Regions from separate parts of the Homo sapiens genome. Here all the other regions are linked to region 6. Evidence: promoter capture Hi-C in 16 types of primary human blood cells and fetal thymus (Javierre and others, 2016). All regions are on one chromosome and are shown on one strand. The core of a region is centred on a gene start or on the middle of the fragment in contact, and the rest is flanking DNA. Distances in the headings are between cores, read along the strand shown. Region 1 holds the start of KLF16 (KLF transcription factor 16). Region 2 overlaps GNG7 (G protein subunit gamma 7). Region 3 overlaps GNG7 (G protein subunit gamma 7). Region 4 holds the start of ABHD17A (abhydrolase domain containing 17A, depalmitoylase). Region 5 has its middle 8.5 kb from the start of CSNK1G2. Region 6 holds the start of PLEKHJ1 (pleckstrin homology domain containing J1).

Evidence for each region. Contacts are between HindIII fragments. The CHiCAGO score rates a contact against its expected background, and 5 or more counts as called.
Region 1: a contact is called between the fragment with the promoter of KLF16 here and the fragment with the promoter of PLEKHJ1 in region 6, in 1 of 17 cell types (monocytes). The highest score is 6.3, in monocytes.
Region 2: a contact is called between a fragment that was not itself captured here and the fragment with the promoter of PLEKHJ1 in region 6, in 1 of 17 cell types (naive B cells). The highest score is 5.6, in naive B cells.
Region 3: a contact is called between a fragment that was not itself captured here and the fragment with the promoter of PLEKHJ1 in region 6, in 1 of 17 cell types (total B cells). The highest score is 7.1, in total B cells.
Region 4: a contact is called between the fragment with the promoter of ABHD17A here and the fragment with the promoter of PLEKHJ1 in region 6, in 3 of 17 cell types (monocytes, neutrophils and fetal thymus). The highest score is 8.2, in monocytes.
Region 5: a fragment that was not itself captured here is called in contact with the fragment with the promoter of PLEKHJ1 in region 6 in 2 of 17 cell types (neutrophils and monocytes); the score reaches 5.9 in neutrophils.

Annotation. Positions count from the first base shown.
Region 1 is chr19:1,862,142-1,864,865 of GRCh38, reverse strand. KLF16 (KLF transcription factor 16) reads left to right here and starts at 1,287. Exons shown (of 2, transcript NM_031918.4): 1 at 1,287-1,825. The coding sequence starts at 1,369. RefSeq lists silencers at 1-144, 215-1,314, 1,645-1,824, 1,875-2,044 and a promoter at 194-1,398. The HindIII fragment of the contact is 13,147 bases long and covers 1-2,724 here.
Region 2 is chr19:2,639,659-2,642,390 of GRCh38, reverse strand. All of the region lies in intron 2 of GNG7 (G protein subunit gamma 7), which reads left to right. Among named protein-coding and RNA genes, the nearest start is that of MIR7850, 10 kb to the right of the region's middle. The HindIII fragment of the contact is 7,333 bases long and covers 1-2,732 here.
Region 3 is chr19:2,600,875-2,603,727 of GRCh38, reverse strand. The region is part of intron 2 of GNG7 (G protein subunit gamma 7); the gene reads left to right. Among named protein-coding and RNA genes, the nearest start is that of MIR7850, 28 kb to the left of the region's middle. RefSeq lists an enhancer at 1-437. The HindIII fragment of the contact is 7,209 bases long and covers 1-2,853 here.
Region 4 is chr19:1,883,840-1,886,916 of GRCh38, reverse strand. ABHD17A (abhydrolase domain containing 17A, depalmitoylase) reads left to right here and starts at 1,421. Exons shown (of 5, transcript NM_001130111.2): 1 at 1,421-1,565. RefSeq lists a silencer at 2,009-2,156. The HindIII fragment of the contact is 20,961 bases long and covers 1-3,077 here.
Region 5 is chr19:1,931,154-1,934,180 of GRCh38, reverse strand. No RefSeq gene overlaps it. Among named protein-coding and RNA genes, the nearest start is that of CSNK1G2, 8.5 kb to the left of the region's middle. The HindIII fragment of the contact is 7,321 bases long and covers 1-3,027 here.
Region 6 is chr19:2,234,741-2,237,775 of GRCh38, reverse strand. It overlaps PLEKHJ1 (pleckstrin homology domain containing J1), which reads left to right and starts at 1,447. Exons shown (of 6, transcript NM_018049.3): 1 at 1,447-1,621; 2 at 1,786-1,853; 3 at 1,948-2,014. The coding sequence starts at 1,528. It overlaps SF3A2 (splicing factor 3a subunit 2), which reads right to left and starts at 952. Exons shown (of 9, transcript NM_007165.5): 1 at 875-952. It overlaps MIR6789 (microRNA 6789), which reads left to right and starts at 1,850; the gene lies at 1,850-1,947. RefSeq lists silencers at 667-766, 1,377-2,006 and enhancers at 1,187-1,236, 815-1,423, 2,032-2,640, 2,643-3,035. The HindIII fragment of the contact is 3,950 bases long and covers 1-2,225 here.

The sequences.
Region 1 (2,724 bases), core at 38-2,537, 370 kb after region 6:
GAAGGGGCGGGAGCGCGGTCGCGACCGAGGGGGGCCGCCCAGTTTCTGTGCCCCCGCCGCCTTGGGCCTGCGAACTGGGCCATCCGCGTCCCTGGTGTCCCCCCTAATATTTAACAAGTTGGCCTGGACGTCCTCGCGGCCGGGAGGCCCGAATACCTGGCCTCAGTTTTCCCGTCCGAACCCCAAGAATCGATGCCTGGGAATGGAAAGAGAAGCCCCGGACCCCGGTGTCCCAGCAGGGCGGGGAACCTCTGACCCGCTCAGGCGCCCCCAGCCCAGCCCAGCCCTTTGCGTTCGGCCCCCTCTTCCCGTCCCCCTATCCCGACCCTCTGGGACCCAACCGGCCCTCCCCACCCCCAGTGGGGCGCGCTCTAGTAGCTCCGGAACTGGGTGCAAAAAGAGGAACGAACGCAGCCTTGCCCCACCCTCCCGGGCCCCGCCGCGGGCGCGGGATACCGGGTGTCTCGGCCGGGAGGCTCCGAGGGGCTCTGTGAGCGGCGAGGGGGAACCCCAGAGAAGAGGACGAGCAGATGCCTGAGTGCGGGGTCAAAGCAGGGCCCCAGGCCGGGAGAAGAGGGGGGAAGGGTCGCGCACGTGGCCTGGGGGCGGGGCCGGCCGCTTCCGCACCCCTCCAACCCCGGCCACGTGGGGATCGGAGCCCTCCTCCATCGCGAACGGGGGCGCGCCCGGGGCCAGGAGGGAAGCATCCGGGGAGGGGGCGGGCTCCCGCCGGCCGCGCGCCCCGGCGTGGGGTGGGCGCGCCAGCGAGGAGGCGGGGCGCGCTCTGGGAGGGAGGGGCGTGCCGGGATGGGGCGGGGCGCGCTCTCGGAAGGAGGGGCGTGCCGGAGAGGGGGCGGGGTCCTCGGCCTCCCGCCCCGGCTTGAGGGGGTGGTGCTCCGGGAAAGGGTACGGGGGCGCGCGCTGGAGTGGGGCGCGCCGGGAGGGGGCGGGGCTCCCGGCCTTGCACCCTAGCGCGGAGAAGGCGCGCTCCGGGCCTAAGACGCTAGGCGCTGGCGGAGGCCGGAGTGGGCGCGCCGGGGGGCGGGTTCCTCCGGCCCGAGCCCCGCCCCCGGCGGCCGCGCGCGGCTCGGAGAGTGGTGGAGGGCGCGCCGGGCGGGGGGCGTGGCTGCGGCGCCCCGAGGGGGCGTCCTCCGGGCGGGGCGGGCTGTGGCCGCCCCCGCGGGCTCCGGTGCGTCAGGACGCGTCAGGCGGGGCGGGGCAGGCCGAGCGCGGGCGTCGGCGGCGGCGCGCGCCGGGCCTCCTCCTCCTCCTCCTCCGCCTCCCGCACTCGAGCAGCCGCCGCCGGCCGGACGGACGCCGCTCCCGCCGCCTCCGCTCCGCCCGCCGCGCCGCGCGCCCTTGCTCGGCATGTCGGCGGCCGTGGCGTGCGTGGATTACTTCGCCGCCGACGTGCTCATGGCCATCTCTTCGGGCGCCGTGGTGCACCGCGGGCGGCCCGGCCCCGAGGGCGCGGGCCCCGCCGCCGGCCTGGATGTGCGCGCGGCGCGCCGCGAGGCCGCCTCACCCGGGACCCCGGGGCCACCCCCGCCGCCCCCCGCCGCTTCTGGCCCGGGCCCCGGCGCCGCCGCGGCGCCCCACCTGCTGGCCGCCAGCATCCTGGCCGACCTGCGCGGCGGACCCGGAGCCGCCCCGGGGGGCGCCTCGCCCGCCTCCTCCTCCTCAGCCGCCTCGTCCCCGTCCTCGGGCCGCGCCCCCGGCGCCGCGCCCTCCGCCGCCGCCAAGAGCCACCGCTGTCCCTTCCCGGACTGCGCCAAAGCCTACTACAAGTCCTCGCACCTAAAGTCGCACCTGCGGACGCACACAGGTGAGTGCAGCCGCGATCCCGGCCCTTGCGGGGGCGGCCGCCTGAGACCCCTCCCCCGCCAGGACCCCGAAACTGCGTGGCGCGTGGGGGGCGGGGAGGGGGGCGCGCCCGGGCCGCCGCCGCGCCGGCCGGCAGGGCGGGGCCTCGGTGGGTGGGGCGCGCGCGGGGGGCGTGGCGGCCACGCGGTCGGGCGGCGAGCGGATGGCCGCCCCGGCGGCAGTGGCGGGGGCTCCGGGGGCCCAGCGAGGTCTGCGGGCGGGATTGAGACTCCTGGGCAGACCACCTCTCTCCCTTTCTGGGCCTTGTTCCGTTTTTTTTTTTTTCTTTTGCGTTCTGGTCTGGGCGGTGGGCACCGTGGTTGGAGCATCCGGCTCTGGGGTTCTGGGTTCTCCCCCTCCCCCAGCCTCAGTTTCCTTATCTGTGAAAATGGAGGAGGAACCGCGTCGCCGCCGCCGGGGTGGCCGCGCGGATTCTCCCCAGAGGTCGGCAGAGCACCTGGCGTGGGGCCAGGATGGGGGGAGCCCGGCACGTTTTCTCTGCGTTCTCTGTATTTTAACGAGGGGGAGGGCGAGGCTAGGAGCGCGGGTTGGGGCCTGAGTCTGGGCGGGGGAACTTCATAGTATTGGAGGACCCTCGAGGGGCTCGGGTCCACACTGCTGTATTTCCCTGGCGTGTTTGTTCACCCCTACCTGGCGGGCGATTCGGGAAGGTGCGCGTAGTTGGAGCGCTTCGGCTACACCAACGCCCCTCCTAGCGCAGTCCCCGGGGCGGCGAGGGGAACCGGGAGCCTGGTGGGCCTGGCTGTATTTTTTCACTCCGTCCCCTCCTAGGGTTCCACTTTCTGGACTGGGAGTTTGGACTGGGCAACAGGGGACGGTGGGCCTTGATGGCCGGCCCTG
Region 2 (2,732 bases), core at 11-2,510, 400 kb before region 6:
CTGTCTAAAAAACAGAAACAAATAACCCCATTCATTTCGACAGGGAAACGCTAGCAGCTGCGGAGCTAATAGTGTTTGCAAGCTAGGATACGGCAATTCTCAGCAAGAAACATTGCGATTTCTGATCTCCCGTGGGCCCTTTTGGAAAGACTGCCCGTGATGGGGTCATCGTTCTCCATGACCTGTCCCAGAAACACGTGTCCCATGGTGGGGGTCTGTGAGAACAGCTCCCTGGCAGGCAGGCTGTGGGCTGGTGGGGCTGCCCACTAAGCCCCGAGGGCCTGGATCGGAGCTGCTAGATCCTCTTTGGGCACTGGTGGATGTAGGCACCTCCTGCCCCAGACGTAACAAGTGACTACTGATGTAGAACGGCTTCTCCCACACAGTTATTATCTGACAGCGCTGAAGCTCAGAAGTCTAACGTAGGGCCAGGCGCGGTGGCTCACTCCTGTAATCCCAGCACTTTGGGAGGTCGAGGTGGGCGGATCACCTGAGGTCAGGAGTTTGAGACCATCCTGGCTAACATGGTGAAACCCCATCTCTACTAAAAATACAAAAAAAACCAGCCAGGTGTGGTGGTGTGCATCTGTAGTCCCAGCCACTCAGGAGGCTGAGGCAGGAAAATCGCTTGAGCCCGGGAGGCGGAGGTTGCAGAGCCAAGATCACGCCACTGCACTCCAGCCTGGGCGACAGAGTGAGACTCCATCTCAAAAAAAGAAAAAATAAAAAAAAAAGAAGTCTAACATAGGCCTCACTGGGCTAAAATCATGGAAAATCAAGGTGTGGGCAGGCCAGTCCCTCCTTGGGGCTCCAGGGGAAAATCTGGTTCCCGCATTTCCCAGCGTCTAGAGGCACCCACATCCCTTGGCTCGGGGCCCCCTCCTCCCCCTTCACAGCCACAGTGAAGCCTCTTCCAGTCTCTGTTTGACTCTCACCCTCCTGCCTCTTCTCCTGAGGACGCTATGAGGACATTGGGGCCCCCAGATCACCCCGGATGCTATCCTATCTCACGATCCTTAACTTCATCCCATCTGCGGTCCCTTTTGACATGGAGCTGACCTGTCCACGGCTTCTGGGGTTAGGATGGGGCTGTCGCTGGGAGCCTGCTGTTCCTTCTGCTGACATGGGGAATGGGCTGGAGGGGTGAGCAGAGCCGACTTCCTCCCTTGCCTGGTCACTCACCTGCCTGTGACCTCAAGGAGAGAGGAAGAGGCTCCCCGTGGGGATCTGCCGGGCGCAACTCTGGCCATCGCAGGGCTGAGTTCTCGAGGCTAAGAGCCACTGAGGGTCAGCTGCGGGACCCGAGTCCCTTCTTCTTGTACCACCTCTGGGGACCATCTGCCAGTTTCTGGAGTGCCTCCCCTTCATTTCATAGACTTAAGTTTCTCAAGCAGGTCATTTTAGGGATGGCAGTTTGGCCTGAAGCCCTTTGATCCCTGATTGACGTCAGAACTTGGTGAGAGCCTGGGTGTGGTGGCTCACGCCTGTCATCGCAGCACTTTGGGAGGCCAAGGCGGGAGGATGGCTTGAGCCCAGGAGTGTGAGACTAGCCTGGGCAACATAGCAAGACCCCATCTCTACAAAAAAATTAAACAATTAGCTGGGTGTTACAGTGTGTACCTGTGGTCCCAGCTACACTGGAGGCTGAGGCAGGAGGATCACTTGAGCCTAGGAGATCGAGTGGTGCAGTGAGCCGAGATCACACCACTGCACTCCAGCCTGGGCAACAGGGCAAGACCCTGTCTCCAAAAAAAGCAACAGCTAAAAAGGTAAAATGAAGAAAAGTACAAAGAAGGCCAAGCCCCTAAGTTCCCCAGCCCAGCACCGATGGGCCTCAGCATCTTGCCAAGCCTGTGCTGGGATTTTCGTGAATTACATTCACCTGTAGATTTCACACAAGGAGGGTTCTATTCTCTCATTCCTCATTCCCATCACTGGGCATCTTTCCTTGTCGAGAAACCTCGACATCCACCCTCATTCTTGACGCTCGTTAAGGCACTCTGTGTGATAGGGGGTGGTGACTTATCACTTTAAAAATGATTTTATAATGTGTTTAACTGGTCCCCCTAGCTGGGCTTTTGGAATGTCTCTCTTTTTCTTGATGTCTTTCTTTCTCTCTTCCTCTCTCTCTCCTTCCTTCCTCTCTCTTTCTTTCCTTCTCCCTCTCTCTTTCTCTCGCCTTCCTCCCTCTCCCCCTTCTCTCTCCTTCCTTCCTATCTCTATCTCCCTCCCTCTGCCGCTTCCTTCCCTCCCTCCTCCCTCCCTCCTCCCCTCCCTCCCTCCTTCCCTCCCTCCTTCCTTCCTCCCTCCCTCCTTCCCTCTCTCCCTCCCTCCTTCCTTCCTTTCTTCCTTCCCTCCCTTCCTCCCTCCCCCTCCCTCCTTCCCTCCCTCTCTTCTTTCTTCCTTCCCTCCCTCCCCCCTCCTTCCTTCCCTCCTTCCTCTCTCCCTCCTTCCTTTCTTCCTTCACTCCCTCCTTCCTTTCTCCCTCCCTCCTTCCCTCTCTCCCTCCCTCCTTCCTTCCTTTCTCCCTCCCCTTCCTTCCTTCCCTCCCTCCTTCCCTCCCTCCCTCCCTTACCCTCTCCTTCCCTCCCTTACCCTCTCCTTCCCTCCCTTCTTCCCCCTTCCCCCCTCCTTCCTCCCCCTCCCTCCCTCCTTCTCTCCCTTCCCTCCCTTCCCCCCCTCCTCCCCCACTCCCTGCCTCCCTCCCTCTCTCCTTCCTTCCTGAATCCCTC
Region 3 (2,853 bases), core at 22-2,521, 370 kb before region 6:
ATCTATGAACAGTGAATAAAAATGAACTGAAATGATCCTCCTAGCTGCAGGGGCTTCTGATGCCTGCATTCTCCAGATGGTTGGTTTCCTAAATTTAGCCGCCGCCCCGCAAGGGTGAGCCCTGCATAGTTTTTGGTCGATCTCCAGTCCAGGCTGTGAATACACAGCCCTGATTTGCATTTCTGAACCCTCGGGGATGGCTGGATTCCTCGGGCTACTCTGCTTGGAATTTTCAGCCCCAGAGAGCCACCGCGGTCTCACCGGATGCCGGTCCCACCCGATGCGAGAAGCTCCGGGGGTTCCCCCTCATTCTGGCATCAGCTCCCTCTCTGCAGCCTGTGGAACAGAAAGAACACAGCTTTAGGCCGGGCACGGCGGCTCACGCCTGTAATCCTAGCACTTTGGGAGGCCGAGGCGGGTGGATCACGAGGTCAGGAGATCGAGATCACCCTGGCTAACACGGTGAAACCCCGTCTCTACTAAAAATACAAAAATTAGCCAGGCATGGTGGTGCGCACCTGTAATCCCAGCTACTCGGGAGGCTGAGGCAGGAGGATCGCTTGAACCCGGGAGGCGGAGGTTTCAGTGAGGCAAGACTGTGCTATTGTGCTCCAGCCTGGGCAACAAGAGCGAAACTCCATCAAAAAAAAGAACAGAACAGAACAGAAAAGAGAAAAAGAAAGAAAGAAAGGGAAGGAAGGAAGGGGAAAGGAAAGGGAGAAAGAAAAGAAAGGAAGGAAGGAAAGAGAGAGAGAAAGAAAGAAAGAGAAAGAAAAGAAAGAAAGGAAGAAAGGAAGAAACAAAAAGAAAGAAAGAAAGAAAGAAAGAAAAAGAGAAAAAGAAAGAGAAAGAGAGAAAAGGGTGGGTAGCGCATCTTTCCTTGCAGAGCCGCAGTGAGCCCCCTTCCAGCTGTGAACTATCAACCTGCCTATAAAAGGCAATTCTGATTGAAGGAAAAGGGAGGGGTGGTGGTGAGGGGAGGGCCGGGTGGCCCTCTGCCCAGCCCGAGATTGGCTTCCGTTTCTGGCTTGCTGTCCAGCGTATGGGATTGATTTAGATTCCCAGAACACCACGGAAGGTAGCACATGCTGTGACGATTGCGTAGTGGTTCGTGCTCCGGGGCCCGGTTGGAGATCCCTGCTGCCCGTCTGTCCGCCTGTGCGAGGCCACAGATCTGCCTGCATTTCCCTGCAGGCTCGGGAGGAGCTGGCAGAACCTGCTGCTTCTGCACAGCGCATTCCTGTCTGCTGGCAGCTCCTCCCCAGCGCCCTGAAGGGAGTGCTGGATCTGCTTAAAAGCGTGCAGGAGGGGGTGGGTACAGGGGAGCCAGGGCCTGCAGAGGACGCAGCCCGCAGCCCAGTCCTCAGTGCTGCTTTTTCTGTTGTTGTTTTGAGACGGAGTCTCGCTCTGTCGCCCAGGCTGGAGTGCAGTGGCGCGATCTCAGCTCACTGCAACCTCTGCCTCCCGGGTTCAAGCAATCCTCCTGTCTCAGCCTCCCAAGTAGCTGAGATTACAGGCGTGCACCACCACGCCCGGCTAATTTTTGCATTTTTAGTAGAGACGGGGTTTCACCATGTTGGCCAGGCTGGTCTCGAACTCCTGACCTCAGGTGACCTGCCCATCTCGGCCTCCCAGAGTGCTGGGATTACAGGCGTGAGCCACTGTGCCCGGCTTCTAGTGCTTCTCCAGATCCTAGCAGACTTTCTTCCCCAGGGTGCCTCCACAGTGCTGCTTGCAGATTCTGGAAGGATCATCTGGGATTCCACTGCTCTCCTCCCCTCTCCTCTCCTCCCCTCCCCTCCCCTGTCTTCTCTTTTCTTCTTTCTGAGACAGGGTCTTACTCTGTGGCCCAGGCTGAAGTGCAGTGATGAAATCATAACTCACTGCAACCTCAGCCTCCTTAAGTGAGCCTCCCGCTTCAACCTCCCTAGTAGCTGGGACTACAGGCTCACACCACCATGCCCGGCTAATTTTTTTATAAAGACAGGGTCTCGCCATGTTGCTCAGGCTGGTCTCGAACTCCTGGGCTCAAGGGATCCTCCTGCCCCGGCCTCCCAACGTGCTTGGGATTACAGACGTGAGCCACCATGCCCGGCCTTCACTGCCTTTCTTTTCCTCAATAAAAATCTGACATCGGGGGATTGCATTGCTCTGTTACCCTTTCTTCAGGCACCTCTCTTTTCCTGCTGCCAAACAGTGGAGACAGGAAGCCAAAAAAAATTGCCCAGTCCTTGTTCCTGGGGAGCTCATTGTAGAGCAGGGGAGACAGACACGTATATTGCAAGCATGTACATGTATCTGCAATAGGCACGAGCCGCGCCGTGGCAGGACTGAGTCCACATGGCTGGGGAAACACACTGCCTGGTAACTGGAGGCTGGTCAGATAGTGGTTGAGCTGAATTGAGGAGTTACCTACTCTAGGGTTTACCTACTTGTGCCCCATGGTTTTTAGGGACAACAGGCATCCCAGCTGTACCCCGGGCCATCTGGATGGAACTAGAATGGATGCAAAGAACACAGCTTTGGAGTCAAGCAAACCTTCCTTAGTTCTATTTTTTACATAAGTAATAATTTGTTTTTGGAGATGGTGGCGGGGGGGAGGTCTCTCCTTGTCACCCAGGCTGGAGTGTAGTGGCGTGATCCTAGCTCACTGCAGCCTCAAACTCCCGGGCTCAAGCGATCCTACCACTTCAGCCTCCCAAGTAGCTGGGAGCACAGGCACACACCACCACAACTGCTTTATGTTTCTCTTTTTTATTCTCCTTCAGCCGTACTTTTCAGCTTTGAGGACTTGAGCAGGTTTATTACCATCTTGGATCGCATTTTCTCTTCTGTGAAGTAGAGAGAATACCT
Region 4 (3,077 bases), core at 172-2,671, 350 kb after region 6:
GCAGTGGCGCGGTCTCAGCTCACTGCAAGCTCTGCCTCCTGGGTTCACGCCGTTCTCCTGCCTCAGCCTCCCGAGTAGCTGGGACTACAGGCGCCCGCCACCACGCCCGGCTATCTTTTTGTATTTTTAGTAGAGATGAGGTTTCACCGTGTTAGCCAGGATGGTCTTGATCTCCTAACCTCATGATCTGCCCGACTCGGCCTCCCAAAGTGCTGGGATTATAGGCGTGAGCCACCGCGCCCAGCCCATAATGAAATTTTTTTAAGAGACAGGATCTTGCTCTCTCGCCCAGGCTGGAATGCAGTGGAGTGATCATAGTTTTATTTATTTATTTATTTATTTATTTATTTATTTATTTATTTATCTGAGACAGTCTTCTTGCTCTGTCACTTGGGCTGGAGCACAGTGGCCCGATCTTGGCTCACTGCAACCTTCGCCTCCCGGGTTCAAGCGATTCTCCTGCCTCAGCCTCCGGAGTAGCTGGGACTACAGGCGCGTGCCACCATGCCCGGCTAATATTTGTATTTTTAGTAGAGACAGGGTTTCACCACGTTGGTCAGGCTTGGTCTCAAACTCCTGACTTCAGGTGATCTACCTGTTTCAGTCTCCCAAAGTGCTGGGATTACAGGCATGAGCCACCGTGCCCGGCCTAATGTAATATTTTAAAAACTAATGCAAAAGAATTTCTGATGAGCAATATATAAAGACTTTAAATAAGCTGGTCATGGTGGCTTGTGCCTATAGTCCTAGCTACTCAGGAGGCTGAAGTAGGAGGTTCACTTGATCCTGGGAGGTCGAGGCTGCAGTGAGCTATGATGGCACCAGCCTGGGTGACAGAGTAGACTCTATGTTAAAAAAAAGAGGCCAGGTGCGGTGGCTGATGCCTGTAATCCCAACACTTTGGGAGGCTGAGGCAGGAGGATTCTGGGGTCAGGAGTTCGAGGCCACACTGGCCAACATGGGGAAACCCCGTCTCTACTGAAAACACAAAAATTAGCTGGGCATGGTGGTGGGCGCCGGTAATCCCAGCTACTCAGGAGGCTGAGGCAGGAGAATCGCTTGATCCCAGGAGGCAGAAGTTGCAGTGAGCTGAGATCGCGCCATTGTACTCCAGCCTGGGCGACAGAGCGCGACTCCATCTCATAAAGAAAAATATTTTAAAACATTTCTAAATGTTGATGTCTGAGTTTTTTTTGGCGTCCCTGTAAATTTTGTTTTCCAGGCGAGAACTTTACTGGCCTCAACCTATTCCGGGTCCCCAAGTGAATGAAACCTAAGTTTGGCCCCGCCCACAGAGCAGCAGGCCACGCCCCTCGACATATCAGCCCCGCCCCCAGGACGCTAGTCGCGCGGTCGCTCTGTGCCTGCAGACCCCCGCCCCGCGCGCTCCTCGCGTCACTTCCGGGGCGGTGGTGAGAACGAGGCTCACTTCCGTCCGTGGGGGGAGCTGCGGCGGTGGCGGTGCAGGAGGCCGGGCAGGGGTGCGGAGGGACCGACGGACGCACGGGCGGGCGGCCGGGAGCCATGGAGCGCGGCCCTGGGGCCCGGGGGCGCGGGCCGGGGTGGTGAGTGCCGGGCAGGGGCGGGGGCGGGCGCGGCCGCGCGGGGTCCCGGGCCGGGCCTCGAGGGCCTGACAGCCCGGTTGGACGTCCCCGAGACCCCTGCAGTCCCAGGGCTTCCGCGGGTCCTGCCCGAGGAGCCCAGAGCAGGGGCGCGGACCGCGGATGAGCGTCTGTGATTGGGAAAGCCCTGTCCCCATCCATTCAGCCCTCCGGCGTGGGTTGCGCTCCCACCCTCCTGCGGACGCGGCCCTTGCCTTCGGGGAGCACCCGTCCGAGCCGCGGATTCCGCTCTTTTGCCCCGAAACTGCCCCCAGTCCGACAAACGCTTCGGCCTCTCGCCCCCCAAGGCAGCTCCCAGGGGCCCTCCCGAGCCCTGCTTCCCAACCAGCTCCCAGTCGCTGTTTCCCTTGTCAGGCTTCTTCCTGCCACCCTGACTCCTGGGCGGGCTTCCCGGCCTCCGCTCGCGTCCGTTCTCCGGGATGCAGCCCTTCTCCTATGTTGTCCATCGCTTGCTCGGGACTTCTTCGCGGCCCCGCCATTTCTCCCAGGATGAAGTGCAAACTCTCGGGGGCGCGACCTCACCCGTCCCAGGCTCTCTCTTAGGACCCTTCTGCTCACTTCTTCCTCCCAGGGTCTGCTCTAGCCAGGAGCCTGCTCTGTCACCTCGGATTTTGCTCCTGCTTGTCCCTCTGTCCCATCCCCCTGTCACCTGGCCCGTTTGTCTGCCCTCTGATATGGCCGCGCCTCCCCCCAGGCGGGTTTCCCACCCTGACTGGTTGAGTGAGGTGCAGTCACCGTCTCCCATATGTAGGTCATCTTCCAGTATTTTGGCTGCTCGGTTGCTTGCTGGTCCTCAGAACACCTCTAGCTTGCAGAGGGTTGCCCAGTTAAGTGCGTGGGAACGGAATTGGTGGGATTCAGGGTGTCAAGGGTGTGTGCCCAGTGAGTGAGGCGTCTGGGTTTGCACTCCCCAGTCCACGCCCATTAGTGACACTAGGGAGGTTCCAGGTACCTGTGGCTGGAGAGGAGAGGAGACTAGACTTTCCCTTCCCTGTCAAAGCTGGCGGACCTTGGGGATTCTTTTCCTCCTGTGCTTCCTCCTTAATTCTGTGCTGCCTACCACCTGCCCATTCCTTTAGTGAGTGGCAGGTCATGGTCCTGCTCTCATAGAGTTTCTGGTTTGGAGGTGGGGGGAGATCTGGCCAAACGTGTGAAAAATACAAGCTGTGGAAAGAGCGTGTAAGGGGTCCTGTCCCAGCTTTGAGGACTCTGAGAGCGTTGGCAGTGAGGTGCAAAGGGTGGTTGGGTTGGGCAAGGCTGTCTAGTGAGGTTGGGGAAGGGAGTTCCTGGCAGAGGAGCAGAGGCAGGAAGGGGCAATTTGGCTTGTCTTGAGGGAGCCAGGAGTGGCAGGGTGTGAGATGAGTGAGTCTGGAGAGGTCGGCCTGAGCCGGAATGCGGACCTGGCAGGCTGTGGGGAGGGCTTTGATCTCTATCCAGGGAATAATGGGAGGCCCC
Region 5 (3,027 bases), core at 167-2,666, 300 kb after region 6:
GTATGTGTGTGCACATGTCTGTCTCTGGGTCTTTGTGTGCGTGGGTGTGTGTGCGCACCTGTGCATCTGGGTGTGTGTGTGTGTGTTCGTCGGTGGGTCTATGGGGGGGTGTGCATTTGTGTGCCTGTGTTTGGCATGCCTGTGTGTGGTGTGTGTTGGTTTGTGTATTGTGTGTGTGAGCATGTGAGTGCCTGCATGGGGGGTATTCAGGAACGCTGCTGTGAATGGCATCGCTCAGCGTCAGGGAACCGTCTTGCTCCAGGTTTTGGGCTGTTTCATGGAGGCTGGGGGATGTTCTTGTTGATGATGCAGCCCACTTGGACTTAACTTATTTTTGGTCATATTGCACCTAAATGGTCCTCCTGGCATTCACTCTGTTCATTTGCCCCTGGTGCCTGGGGACTCCTCCCATGGTGGTGACCAGGGTCTCTCCCACATCTCTTGTCACCAAGGCCAGCCACAGAGGGCAGCCTGCAGTGGACAGGGTGCAGGACAGGGCAACAATGACCATGATGCTTCATGGAAGATGTGAGCTCCCCCCAGGGAGCCTCCCATCCAGAGCCCCCACCCCTCAGCTCGATGGAATGCCCAGCCCCTTGGTGCTGCAACCCCAGTAGGAGGGTGGCATCCTGGACCCAGGCAACAGGGATGCTGCATGCCACAAACACTGAGACACAAAGAAGAAGTGGTTCAAAAGCTGGGTGTGATGGTCACAGATTCTTTGCTGCTCCTCCCACGGAAAGACACAGTTCATTTCCCCTCCCCTGAATGTAGCTGCTCCTGTGACCTGTTTTAGCAACAGAAGGCAGGGGAAGTGGTGCCTTGAGACTTCTGAGGGAGGGTCTTACGAGCTCGACAGTAGGCTGGGCATGGTGCTTACACCTGTCATCCCAGCACTTGGGGAGGCCGAGGCGGGCAGATCACCCGAGGTCAGGAGTTTGAGACCAGCCTAGCCAGCACGGTGAAACCCTGTCTCTACTAAAAATACAAAATTAGCTGGGCGTGGTGGTGGGCACCTGTAATCCCAGCTACTCGGGAAGCTGAGGCAGTAGAATCACTTGAACCTGGGAGGTGGAGGTTGCAGTGAGCCGAGACTGCGCCATTACACTCCAGCCTGGGTGACAGAGTGAGACTGTGTCTCAAAAAAAAAAAAAAAAAAAAAAGAACTCAACAGCGTCCTTTCTGCTTGGAACCCAGCTGCCATCTTGTGAGGCAGCCACCTGGAAGCCCCTGGGTGATGGCACCACTGAGCAGGCACCACCTGCCAGCCCTGTGAGTGAGCTACCTCAAACATTCCCGGCCAGGGAAAGCCACTAAATGATTGCTGATTACCCCCCATCACCACAGGGAGCAGAACTGCCCAGCTGAGCCCGGACACCCCGCATCATGTCAGATATAATCCACTGCCATTCTACCTTAGCCACCCCAAATCCCTAGGGCTGAATGAGGTCATCAAATAATGATTCCTCTCCCACTTTCTCCCCTCTGCTAGTCCCTGGCAGACTGGAGGATGGCCCAGAGGCAGCCAGGTGAGGGGTGACGCCCTTCAAGGCCCTGCTCCAGTGGTCCTCACCAACTACAACCGCCCTGCAGAGCCCCGCTGTGCCCTGCACCTGCTCCCCGGCCCTCATGCCGCTGCCAGGAGTGTCTGTGCTCATCTGTCTTCTCTCCCCTCCAGCCTGAGAAAGCTCCTTCTTCCCACCCCTTACCAGAAATATAAATTGGCCGGGCGCGGTGGCTCATGCCTGTAATCTCAGCACTTTGGGAGGCTGAGGCAGGCAGATCACGAGGTCAGGAGATCGAGGCCATCCTGGCTAACATGGTGAAACCCCGTCTCTACTAAAAATACAAAAAATTAGCCAGGCATGGTGGCGGGCGCCAGTAGTCTCAGGTACTTGGGAGGCTGAGGCAGGAGAATGGCGTGAACCCAGGAGGCAGAGCTTGCAGTGAGCCAAGATGGTGCCGCTGCACTCCAGCCTGGGTGACAGAGTGAGACTCCGTCTCAAAACAAAAAAAAAGAAAAAAAGAAATATAAATTTACTCCTTGCCCCTTCTGTGTTTCAAAGGAGGGTGGCTTTTCAAAGTCCCCACAATGGGGACAGCATTCGAGGCTGCCTCAATGGCTGGTTCCACTTCGCAGCCCCATCTATCCATCAGGACGCCCTCTGCACCCATACTGACTTGTTCCTTTCCAACCCACCCTGACCCTCCACCCATCTGAGCCTTGTCTGGCTTCTCTCAGCCCAACAGGTCTGGCAAAGCTCAGGCAGATGATCACCTCTTTTGGGAGGACTCCATGATACATCAGGCCAAATGAATCCAACCCACCAGCCTCTGGAACTGCTTTCGTCCATGTACTTATGTGTTCTGCCTTCCATGATGGATATTCATGGTCTGTCTGCCCCACTAGGCAGCAGCTCCTGAGGACAGGAACTAAACCTCTTTAAAATGCCTTCAAAAACCCTGCCATGCACCCTGATACAGCCCTAGTTAGTGTACATATTATTATCAGGTTTCTGAAGATAATCCAGGAACACCTATTGTATCAGTCAGCTACTGCTGCATAACAAATTATACCAAACTCAGTGGCCTAAAACAACACATGTCTTTGTGATATGACTGGTGAAATAAATTAAGCAAAAACAAATTATTATTTTTTTTAATAAAAAAGAAGAGGCTGGGAGCCATGGCTCATGCCTGTAATCCCAGCACTTTGGGAGGCTGAGGCAGGCAGATCACCTGAGGTCAGGGGTTTGAGACCAGCTTGGCCAATATGGTGAAACCCAATCTCTACTAAAAATACACAAAAATTAGCTGGGTGTGGTGGCGGGCGCCTGTAGTCCTGGCTACTTGGGCGGCTGAGGCAGGGAAATCTCTTGAACCTGGGAAGCAGAGGTTGCAGTGAACCGAGATCGCACCACTACACTCCAGCCTGGGCAAAGAGCAAGACTCCATCTCAAATAAATAAATAAATAAATAAATAAATAAAACAAAAATAAAATTAATAAATAAAACAACAGACATCTT
Region 6 (3,035 bases), core at 198-2,697:
TGATGTTGAAGCCGTCACTCCCATTTTAAGGGAACTGAGGCTCACAGGAATTACATCACAGAGCCCCAGTCAACTAACAGGTATAGATGAGCATACAGAAGCGTTCTCGGCTACAAGGAAGGCGGCCGAAACCATTTCAGCCGCGATCCCGATTCGACCCCAACGAATCTTGGTTGTTTCTTTTTTATTTTGTCAAACAGGGTCTTGCTCTGTTGTCCAGGCTGGAGTGCAACGGCACAATCACAACTCACTGCAGCCTCGACCTCCTGGACTCAAGCGATCTTCCCGCTTCAGCCTCCAGAGTAGCTGGGACTACAGGCGCGCGTCACCAACCACGCCCGGCTAATTTTTTTTTTTTTTTTTTTTGCAGTGATGGGGTCTCGCTATGTTGCCCAGGCTGGAGTGCAGTGGTGGGATCATGGCTCACTGCAGCCTCGACATTCCGAGCTCAAGCGATCCTCTCGAGTAGCTGGGCCTACAGGTACAACCACCACTCCTGGCTAATTTTTTAAAATTTTTTGTAGAGATGGGGGTCTCGGTGTGTTGTCCAGGCTGGTCTCGAACTCCTGGCCTCAAGCGATCCTCCCGCCAAGGCCTCCCTGAGCAGTGAGATTACAGGCGTGAGGCCCCGCGCGCGGCCTCCCAACAGGAGTTTGGAAATAGAGTTCCTGGCGGGCCCGACCCTCCAGGCCCGCCCAGCGCGGGGCCTCAGGATGCACAAGGCCGGACGCTCACGGGAGGAGGGAGGGGAGCGACGCCGCCGCCCCACCCTCGGCCCGCGGCCTGTCGCAAGCGCCTCTCTCCTACGTCCGCTGTCCCCCAGGGAACCCCCGGTCCGCGTCGGCCGCCGCCCTCAACCGCCTCTACTCCTCACCAGAGCCCAAGGCCGCGTTATCTCCTCCTCGTTTCGCCACCTCCACGACTTCGTTTGGCGAACGGCGGGCAAAGAAAGCACTTCCGGGGCAAATGAGACGGGCCCTCTGGTGTGCGCATGCCTGGCCCGCCCAGCGGCGTGAGTCAGAGGGTCCCGAGGCGCGAAGGAAAAGGCTGGAGGGGGAGAGGCTGAAAGCGCGGCCTGGAAGGCAAACTGCGCGTGCGCACAACGCTCTCAACGAACCCTCGGTCCGCTGCGGCCGCACGGGGCCAACTTTCGCGAGGGAGCGGCTGACACTCTCCGGGCGACGTTATCGCTCCCTCCGCCTGCGCCTGGCCGCTCTAGAAAGGGGTGCCAGCCATCGCTGGGGTGCCTTGATTCTGTTCCACCTTGGTCCGGTTTATTTCAGTTTAATGGTTATGTAACAACGGTCCGTCTCTCCTACCAACCGGTACCCCGCCCACGCCAGCAGCCACGGGTCGCCAGCGCCACGCAGCGGAGGCGGGCGGCATGGCTGGCCCAAGGTGCGCAGGCGCACTAGCCCTGGGGGTGCTTCCGTGTCTGCGCCCTGAGACATTTTTGGCGCCGGCCCCAGCCTGAGCGGGGACGGCGGCCGGGAGGGCGCGGCCCGGGTTCCCGTTCCCCGCGGAGCCATGCGGTACAACGAGAAGGAGCTGCAGGCTCTGTCCCGGCAGCCGGCCGAGATGGCGGCCGAGCTGGGCATGAGGGGCCCCAAGAAGGGCAGCGGTGAGCGGGACCCGGGAGACCGAGACAGTGCCAGGGGCGGGAGGCCGGGGCCGGGGTCTGGGCGGGGGTGCCGGAGGCCGGAGTCCGGGTCGGGGCGCCGGGGACGGGAGGCCGGGGTCCGGGCGGGGGCTGCCTGCGCCCCTGAGTGCGCGCTGTGCCCGCAGTGCTGAAGCGGCGGCTGGTGAAGCTGGTGGTGAATTTCCTCTTCTACTTTCGGACAGACGAGGCCGAGGTAGGGGCGTCCCGGGCGCGCGGGCGGGTCCCAGGCTGGGCCCCTCGGAGGCCGGGTGCTCACTGCCCCGTCCCGGCGCCCGTGTCTCCTCCAGCCCGTCGGAGCCCTGCTGCTGGAGCGCTGCAGAGTCGTCCGGGAAGAGCCCGGCACCTTCTCCATCAGTGAGTGGGGCTAGGGAAGCCAGCGGCGCTTCCCGCAGCCCGGGGCACCCGCAGCGCCGCACTTTCCCCTCCCCGGGCGCCCAAGGTCTCCTCTGTGTCCCCAGCCTGGCGCCACCCTCCTCAAACACAAGAGTGCATTGTCCACGGGCAGCTCAAGGTCAAGTTCTCCTGGCGGGCACCACCCTTCCCACCTGCCGAGTCCACTTAAGCTTGGGTCCCTCCCAGACTCTGCTCTTTGTTCCCTGTGGGCCCAGGCTGTACTTACAGGGCAGGTGGGCCAGCCCCACCCAAAGCGTTTCCCCAGCTGCCAAGAGTAGCATGGGTCTAGCATTGTTATATGGCCCCGGGCTGGAAATCCCAGGTGGGGGTAGGAGGAGTGAGAGGGGGGTGTTCTCCTGGGTCTTAAGAGATTCCCTTCTGCGGGGAAAGATGGAGTCCCTGCTAGTTTGCCCAGAGTGGCTGTCAAAATTCCACAGGCCAGGTGGCTTAAATATCAGAAACATTCTCTACAGTTCTGGAGGCCAGAAATCCTAGATGAAGGTGTGGGTGGGGCCGAATCCTTCTGAGGCCGAGGGGAATCTCCCAGTTCCTAGTGGTGGCCAGTATCCTCCAGGTTCCTTGGCTTGTGGAAGCGTCACCTTGTCCTCCTTGCATCACGTCTGTGCCCACATTTCCCCTTCTACACAGACGCCAAGCAGAATTTAGGGCCCACCCTGACAACCCCTTTTTACTTCACTTTATTATTTTATTTGCTTATTTTTTGAGACAGGGTCTTGGTATGTCGCCCAGGCTGGAGTGCAGTGGTGCAATCTCGGCTCCCTGTAACTTCCCCCTCTCGGGTTCAAGTGATTCTCCTGCCTCAGCCTCCCGAGTAGCTGGTACTACAGGCACGCGCCACCATGCCCAGCTAATTTTTGTATTTTTAGTAGAGACGGGGTTTCGCCATATTGGCCAGGCTGCTCTCGAACTCCTGACCTCAGGTGATCCTCCCACCTCGGCCTCCCAAAGTGCTGGGATTACG